2 separate regions of the Homo sapiens genome follow, and region 1 is linked to region 2. The links are contacts of gene promoters, found by promoter capture Hi-C in human tissues and cell types (Jung and others, 2019). All regions are on one chromosome and are shown on one strand. Each heading gives the region's core, a stretch centred on a gene start or on the middle of the fragment in contact. The rest is flanking DNA. Distances are from core to core; before and after follow the strand shown.

Region 1 (3,623 bases), core at 951-3,450, 300 kb before region 2:
CAATAACCACCTGTCTGACCATCATTCAGAGAGTTAAGACTAATGGGTCCTAAATGAGATGGGGGAAATGTCCAGGAGAATTTACCCACCCTATATAAGAGGAACTAGGCTTGGACAGAATTGTCCACATTAAACATAATATACAGAGAAATGCCACAATGGAATACTAAAGCAATAAATGTGAGCAAGCTATAACCACACACAACAGCATGGACAGACCTCACACACAACAGCATGGACGGACCTCACACACAACAGCACGGACGGACCTCACACACAACAGCACGGATGGACCTCACACACAAAATGCTGAATGAAAGAAGTCCAGTGCAAAAGGATACATCCTAAAAATTCTATTTAGATATTATGCTGTGAGAAGTCAGAATCCTGACTCCTCTTGTAGGGGGTAGATGTGAGCAGGGCATGTCTGTGTCTAGTGGACAGCACATTACATCTCTCCCAACTCCTGATAATTTTACCCAAGTTTTCAATTGCCTTCTTATTGACATTCCATATTTTTTTTAATTCTTGGTGCATTCTGTAACAAACTCTTTACATGTTGAAAATCATACAATATGGTATCATGCTATCTACAAGTCACTCACTGTAAAAAAGGCCTCATTGTGCAGCGATCATTCCTCAGAAAGACATTTTTGGGGGTAGTGACAGCAGTTCCTCAGTGGAGTCCAGTGGTCTCCACCCATGAATTTGCTACATCCTATCTCTCAAAATTCCTTTGTCTGAGGTCCCGTTAGTGACCCCACAGTGAACCAGGGCACACACCAAGGTTGCTTCCACCTTCATCTGACCATGAGATATTGCTGTGACTTACCCGCTCTTGTCCAAGTTCTTAGTTACAGACAAGAGAATCCAATCCAGTTGGTTAAAATAGAAAGAGATTTGTTAGTGGGTACATAGAGTTCACAGAATCATTACAAGGGCTAAAAGAAAGACTGAGCTTCCAAGAATGACTGCCAAACCACACTGTTCAACTGAACCACCAAGGAGGCTGCTACCTCTCATCAACAGGCAATGCAGAATCAGAAAGCTACTGCTCCTGTAGCCAAGAACACAGAATCAGAAAGCTGTCGCAGGCTGGGCGCGGTGGCTCATGCCTGTAATCCCAGCGCTTTGGGAGGCCGAGGTGGGCAGATCACCCGAGGTCAGGAGTTTGAGACTAGCCTGGTCAACATGGTGAAACCCCATCTCTACTAAAAATGCCAAAATTAGCCAGGCATGGTGGCGCATGCCTATAGTCCCAGCTACTAGGGAGACTGACGCAGGAGAATCGTTTGAACCCAGGAAGCAGAGGTTGCAGTGAGCCAAGAACGCGTCACTGCACTCCAACCTGGGCACCAGAGTGAGACCCTGTCTCAAGAACAGAAAAAAAGAAAGCAAGCAAGCGCCACAGACTGCTTGACTCACTGGTGCTATACCCCCAGCACCGGCGCATAGGCTATTGACATCAGCAACCTGCCAGCTGCACAGTTGCTTCTTAAACTGTTTGCTCACAGTTTTCTGAAGACAGTGCTTTTCAAACTTTAAGATGCCCACAAATTACCTGGGGTTCTTGTTAAAATCATAGATTCTGCTTCAGGAAATCTGAGGTAGGGCCTGAATTCTACATTTCTAATGAGCTTCCAGGTAAGATAGATGCCGCTGCTCTCACTCTTTAAGGAACAACATTAAGAGACATCAGCCTAATGAAATCAAGCCCTATAATCCCTTTCACCTCAATCCCACCAGTGTTCCAAGCTCCTGGGGCATCTGTCATTTGGTCTCTCACCCCTCACACTACCCTGGATCCCTGCTAACTAACCCAATCTCCCACTTTTTCCACCGTACCCTCTTTCATCAGATTCTGCACAGGCAAATTATCTAGTATTCTCAACTTCTTCTCTGAATGTTCCCTTTACTTTCCTGCTTTAACTGAAACTTACTCCCCTGAGGACGTGGATCCTGCAGCCTTCATTGAGGCTGGTGTTTTTTCTTCACTTGCATGTACCTTGAATACCAGAGGCAGGGCAGAAATTCTCCTTCTACCAAAGTTTGTTCCTCATCGCAGTGTTCCTCCTTTCCCCTTGAAAAACTACACCAGAGAAATCTTGCAGACACCACCTTGGCAAAACTATCAAAGTTGTCACCAGTAATAGGACAAATAAACATCATGTACCTCCTGATAAGATGTACTGAGAAGCCTACATCGTTTCTATGGTATCTCTATCAAAAATGCATAACCTGAATTTAATCAGCATACATCAGACAACCTAAACTCAGAGACATCCTACAAAATAAATGACATGTATGATTCCAAAATATCAAGGTCGAGAAAGAGTAAGTACTTCAATTTAGAGGAAACAGAGACATGACAAAACACACACACACACACACACACACACAATGGAGGGCTGGGCGCAGTGGCTCACGCCTGTAATCCCAGCACTTTGGGAAGCTGAGGCAGGCAGATCACAAGGTCAGGAGTTCAAGACCAGCCTGGCCAACATGGTGAAACCGCGTCTCTACTAAAAATACAAAAAATTAGCTGAGCACATTGGCGAGTGCCTGTAATCCCAGCTACTCAGGAGGCTGAGGCAGGAGAATTTCTTGAAAACTGGAGGTGGAGGTTGCAGTGAGCCGAGATCCTGCCATTTCACTCCAGCCTGGGCGACAGAGTGAGACTCCATCTCAAAAAAAAAAAAAAAAAAAAAAAAAAAAACACACAATGGGAGATTCTGGATTGGATCTGAGACCAAAAATGAGGATACTGGTGGGACAGTTGTAAAATTGGTACCATTAGATAATTGTATCAATGTTAGTTTCCTGCATTTGATAATTGTACTGTGGTTACATAAGATATTAACAATTTGAGTGAAGTAGGAATTTGAGTGAAGTACTTACAGAAATCCTTTGTACTGTTTCTACACTTTTCTTTAAAGTCTGAAGTTATTTCAAAACAAAAAGAACTTGGCCAGGCGCGGTGACTCACGCCTGTAATCCCAGCACTTTGGGAGGCTGAGGCAGGTGGATCCCTTGAGCCCAGGAGTTTGAGACCAGCCTGGCCGACATGGCGAAACCCCATCTCTACTAAAAATACAAAAATTAGCCAGGCAAGGTGGCACACACCTGTAATCCCAGCTACTCTGGAGGATGAGGCAGGAGAATCGCTTGAACCCGGGAGGTGGAGATTATTTGAAGTCCACGCCCGCCGACTGGACCTATGAAGCCTCCATGCACATAGTGAGTATTAGCCTGCACTAACACTAACACTAACAAACGCTACCAAATGTGCACTAACACTGCCAGATAACCTTTCTTCATGTTCCTGGTAAACTCACAATCCCACTGTTGAAGAAATCAAGTTTGGATTGTGTTTAGAATAGTGCTTTTGGAAATACTTCACTGATGGCATTCCAATTGGCCATGCTCAGCCAATTGTTAGAGTTGGCTATTTATGAAGGATTGAAGAAAAATACTAGAAAATATAGCCTCACTTTATTTTATATAAAAGTTAAAAATTAATATCCTGGTTGAGCATGGTGGCTCACACCTGTAATCCTAACGCTTTGGGAGGCCAAGGCTGGGGAATTGCTTGAGCCCAGGAGCTCAAAACCTGTCCAGGTAAC
Region 2 (3,585 bases), core at 711-3,210:
AATCTAGCTGGAAACGGAGCTGCAGGACTTGCGTTGAAACTATGTTTGCAAAAGCAAGCACATTTGTTTTCACTAAGATTTTATATTTACTTGGAGTGTATTTGGGAAGGGGGAGCACATGGAGATTAAGAGGGTAAAAATCAAGGTCACCAATGAGAGTACTTAGCACAGTGCCTGACGCCTAAAAAATTAACTGCAAATATTTATGTTTTTTTCCACTAGATTGAATTTCTTAAGAGCTGGATTCTATCTTATTTATCTGCAACTAACAACGCTTGGCACCAAATGTAGAACTGAAATGAATTTTCTTTGCAATCTTGACTAAAAAATGAGGGTTTTATCAATAACTTCGTAGAGTAAATAGAAGTCTCTTAAGGGCTCTTGATATTCTTCCTGTTGGAAACACAAAGAAGGGAAAGGTTTGGAAAAATGAAGTTGACAAAGTCTTTTATTATCAAACGCTCAAACTTATTCCTCACTGCCTTGTTAACACTTGATTTGACACTTTTTTTTTTCTGTTTGAGACACAGTCTTGCTCTGCCACCCAGGCTGGAGTGCAGTGGCGCGATCCTGGCTCACTGCAACCTTGGTTCAAGCGATTCTCGTGCCTCAGCCTCCCGAGTAGCTGGGATTACAGGCGCCCGCCACCACACCAGGCTAATTTTTGTATTTTTAGTAGAGATAGGGTTTCTCCATGTTGGCCAGGCTGGTCTCAAACTCCTGACTTCAGATGATCCACCCGCCTCGGCCTCCCAAAGTGCTGGGATTAGAGGCGTGAGTCATCGTTTGTCTCATTTTTGTTTACATTTAAAATAATAAACCTTGAGGTCGGGCGCGGTGGCTCACGCCTGTAATCCCAGCACTTCGGGAGGCCGAAGCGGGTGGATCATCTGAAGTCAGGAGTTTGAGACCAGCCTGGCCAACATGGTGAAACCCCCGTCTCCATTAAAAATACAAAAATTAGCGGCATGGCGCGGTGGCTCATGCCTCTAATCCCAACACTTTGGGAGGCTGAGGCGGGCGGATCACGAGGTTAGGGGTTTGAGACTAGCCTGGCCAACATGGTGAAACCCCGTCTCTACTAAAAATACAAAAATTAGCCGGGTGTGATGGCAGGCGCCTATAATCCCAGCTACTCGGGAGGCTGAGGCAGGAGAATCGCTTGAACCTGGGAGGCAGAGGTTGCAGTGAGCCTATACTACGCCATTGCACTCAAGCCTGGGCGACAGAACGACACACACACACACACACACACACACACACAAAATTAGCTGGATATAGTGGCGGGCGCCTGTAATCCCAGCTACTCAGGAGGCTGAGGCAAGAGAATCGCTTGAACCTGGGAGACGGAGGTTGCAATGAGCAGAGATCGCGCCATTGCACTCCAGCCTGGGCGACAAGAGCAAAACTCCGTCTCAAAAGTAAATAATAATAAAATAAAAAACCTTGAACGTCATCGCTGTAAGTTGGGAACTCCTATAGCAAGATTCCATACATCCCATTTTTGGACGTTTTATTCCAAAGACACAAGCAAACGGAAGAAAACGACTGCCGTGAACCCCTGCTAACGACAACTTGGTGACTGCAGGATCATTGGACGACGGTTTTATCCTCGCCATCCAATCGTTGGAAAGTCCGGAGAGAACGCTCTCTGGATTGGTTGGAGGAAACATCTCTCCAAGTGCACTCAAGAATGGGTTGGGAGCGGGGTTCGGCCGGCAGCGCCTCGGGCCAATCAGAGAAAGCATGAGGGCGGGCTCTGCCGCAGGAAGGTGGTGAATCTCGGCGGGTCAAACTCTCCTGACGTGATGGGGGGGCGTGGCCTCCAGTTGCGGTCTCCCGGCTCTCTGGGCCCGCGCACGGGATGGGCGGGGCCCACGGGCCTGGGCGGGGCGAGCGGTGTCAGCGGCGGAGCCGGATGCGGGCGGCATCGCGGCGGTCGCGGCCTTGGGGATGGGCGGAGCCCCAGCCGCTAGTGCTGGTGGCCGCCGCTGCTGCCCCAGCTGGAGCCCGAGCCGCCGCCTCTGCGTCCGCGCGTCGCTGCTTCCCAGGGCGGCGGTATGCTGGGGAAAGGAGTAGTCGGCGGTGGCGGCGGCACCAAGGCCCCCAAGCCCTCCTTCGTGTCGTACGTACGCCCTGAGGTGAGGGGGCGCCGCGCAGGCGGGGCGTCGGGCAGGGGCGGCCGGGGCGAGGGGCGCCGGGAGCCCCTTCCTTGCAGCGGGGAGCGCCGCGGAGCGCTTCCTGCCCTTGTGCCGGGCGACGGGGCAGCCAGGCGGGCTGAGGCCGCAGGAGCGCGCTGGGGCCTCCGCGCGGGCCGGAATGGGGACCCCGGCGCAGGCAGGCAGGTGCCTGAGCGCAGGGCCCGAGCGCTGGAGGCTGGTGGAGGGGCCCGAGCCGAGAAGGGATTGCGGCCCGGAACGCCCCTGGGGATTCTGGAGAGGACCTGGGGTTGTGGGCACTGCTGGGAGGGGTAGGGCCGTGGGTCGGAGCCCCCAACGGGGCCTGCTCGGAGCCCGCGTGGGTCCGTCCTGCCTCTGGACTTTCTCAGTGAGCCCAGAAGCCCGCCGGCCTCCGCTGCCTGCGTCTGAGTGCCTCGGGTGCGGCTGGCGGGATGCCCTGCACCTACGTCCGCCTCCCGTCAGCGCTGCGGGGAGAAAAGGGGGTCGGCCTGGCCTCAGCCAGTCTCTGCTTGTCTCTCCCTTGGGAATTCTCCGCTGTCGCTTCTTTCTCCTCATCCCCTCACCATCATCCTTTCCACCCACTTCTTACTCTTCTGAATCTTCAGGTCAAGAAATTTGTTCATTCATTCAGAAAATACTTCTCGAGCTCCTACTGTGTGTCAGGCACTAAGTGCTTGTGATAGACATCAGTGAACAGGACAGAGATCTCTGCATTCCTGGAGCTTATTTGAGGGGGAAAGGAGAAACGGGGTGAATTATAGATAATTAAGTAAATTATACGGTGTAGTAGGAGGTGATAAATATCATGGGAAAGAAAAGAAATCTTTTTCCTCCTCGCAAAGGTGGCATTTGAGCCGAGACTTGAAGATACGAGAGGTCTGAGAGAAGAGTCGTCCAGGTAGAGGGAACAGCCCCCGGGAAGGTCGTGAGGTGGGAGTGTGTCTGAAGGGTTGGCGGAGCGTCAAGGAAGCCAGCATGGCAGAGGCCCATGGACAAGGGGGACAGTCATAGGAGAGGAGGTTAGAGAGATCAGAACTTGTAGGCCTTGCTCAGGGCTTCTTGAGCAATAGTTCTTAATCCAAATGCCTAATGAGAAGCCTTCTTGTTTTGCATCTGTAAAGGTTTTTTTCTGCCCTTCTCTCCAGCAGAAGTGCAGAAGCACCGCCAAATTTGTTGCAGATGTCTTCCCACCTCTGTAATGCAGAAGCACGTGGGCTGTGGATGAGAGATCTGATCAGGGACTGCTTCCGTAAAGACCACCTGGGGCCTGAGGCATTTGCATATGTATCTTTAAATTCAAGATATGTGTGTTTTCTCCAGGGGAAAGTGCTCTTAAAATGGGTCTTATTTTTAGTCCTAGTTGTAAAATACAAACCATTTCCTCTGTTAGCACTTGATGTGGAGT

Evidence for each region. The method cuts DNA at HindIII sites, captures the fragments that hold promoters and counts their contacts. A contact is called where the count stands out against the background at its distance.
Region 1: a contact is called between a fragment that was not itself captured here and the fragment with the promoter of MTMR12 in region 2, in 1 of the 25 tissues and cell types used here (lymphoblastoid cells).

The regions. Positions count from the first base shown.
Region 1 is chr5:32,613,976-32,617,598 of GRCh38, reverse strand. No RefSeq gene overlaps it. Among named protein-coding and RNA genes, the nearest start is that of SUB1, 30 kb to the right of the region's middle. The HindIII fragment of the contact is 9,950 bases long and covers 1-3,623 here.
Region 2 is chr5:32,311,314-32,314,898 of GRCh38, reverse strand. MTMR12 (myotubularin related protein 12) reads left to right here and starts at 1,960. Exons shown (of 16, transcript NM_001040446.3): 1 at 1,960-2,141. The coding sequence starts at 2,061. RefSeq lists an enhancer at 1,492-1,541 and silencers at 1,632-2,421, 2,492-2,631. The HindIII fragment of the contact is 13,800 bases long and covers 1-3,585 here.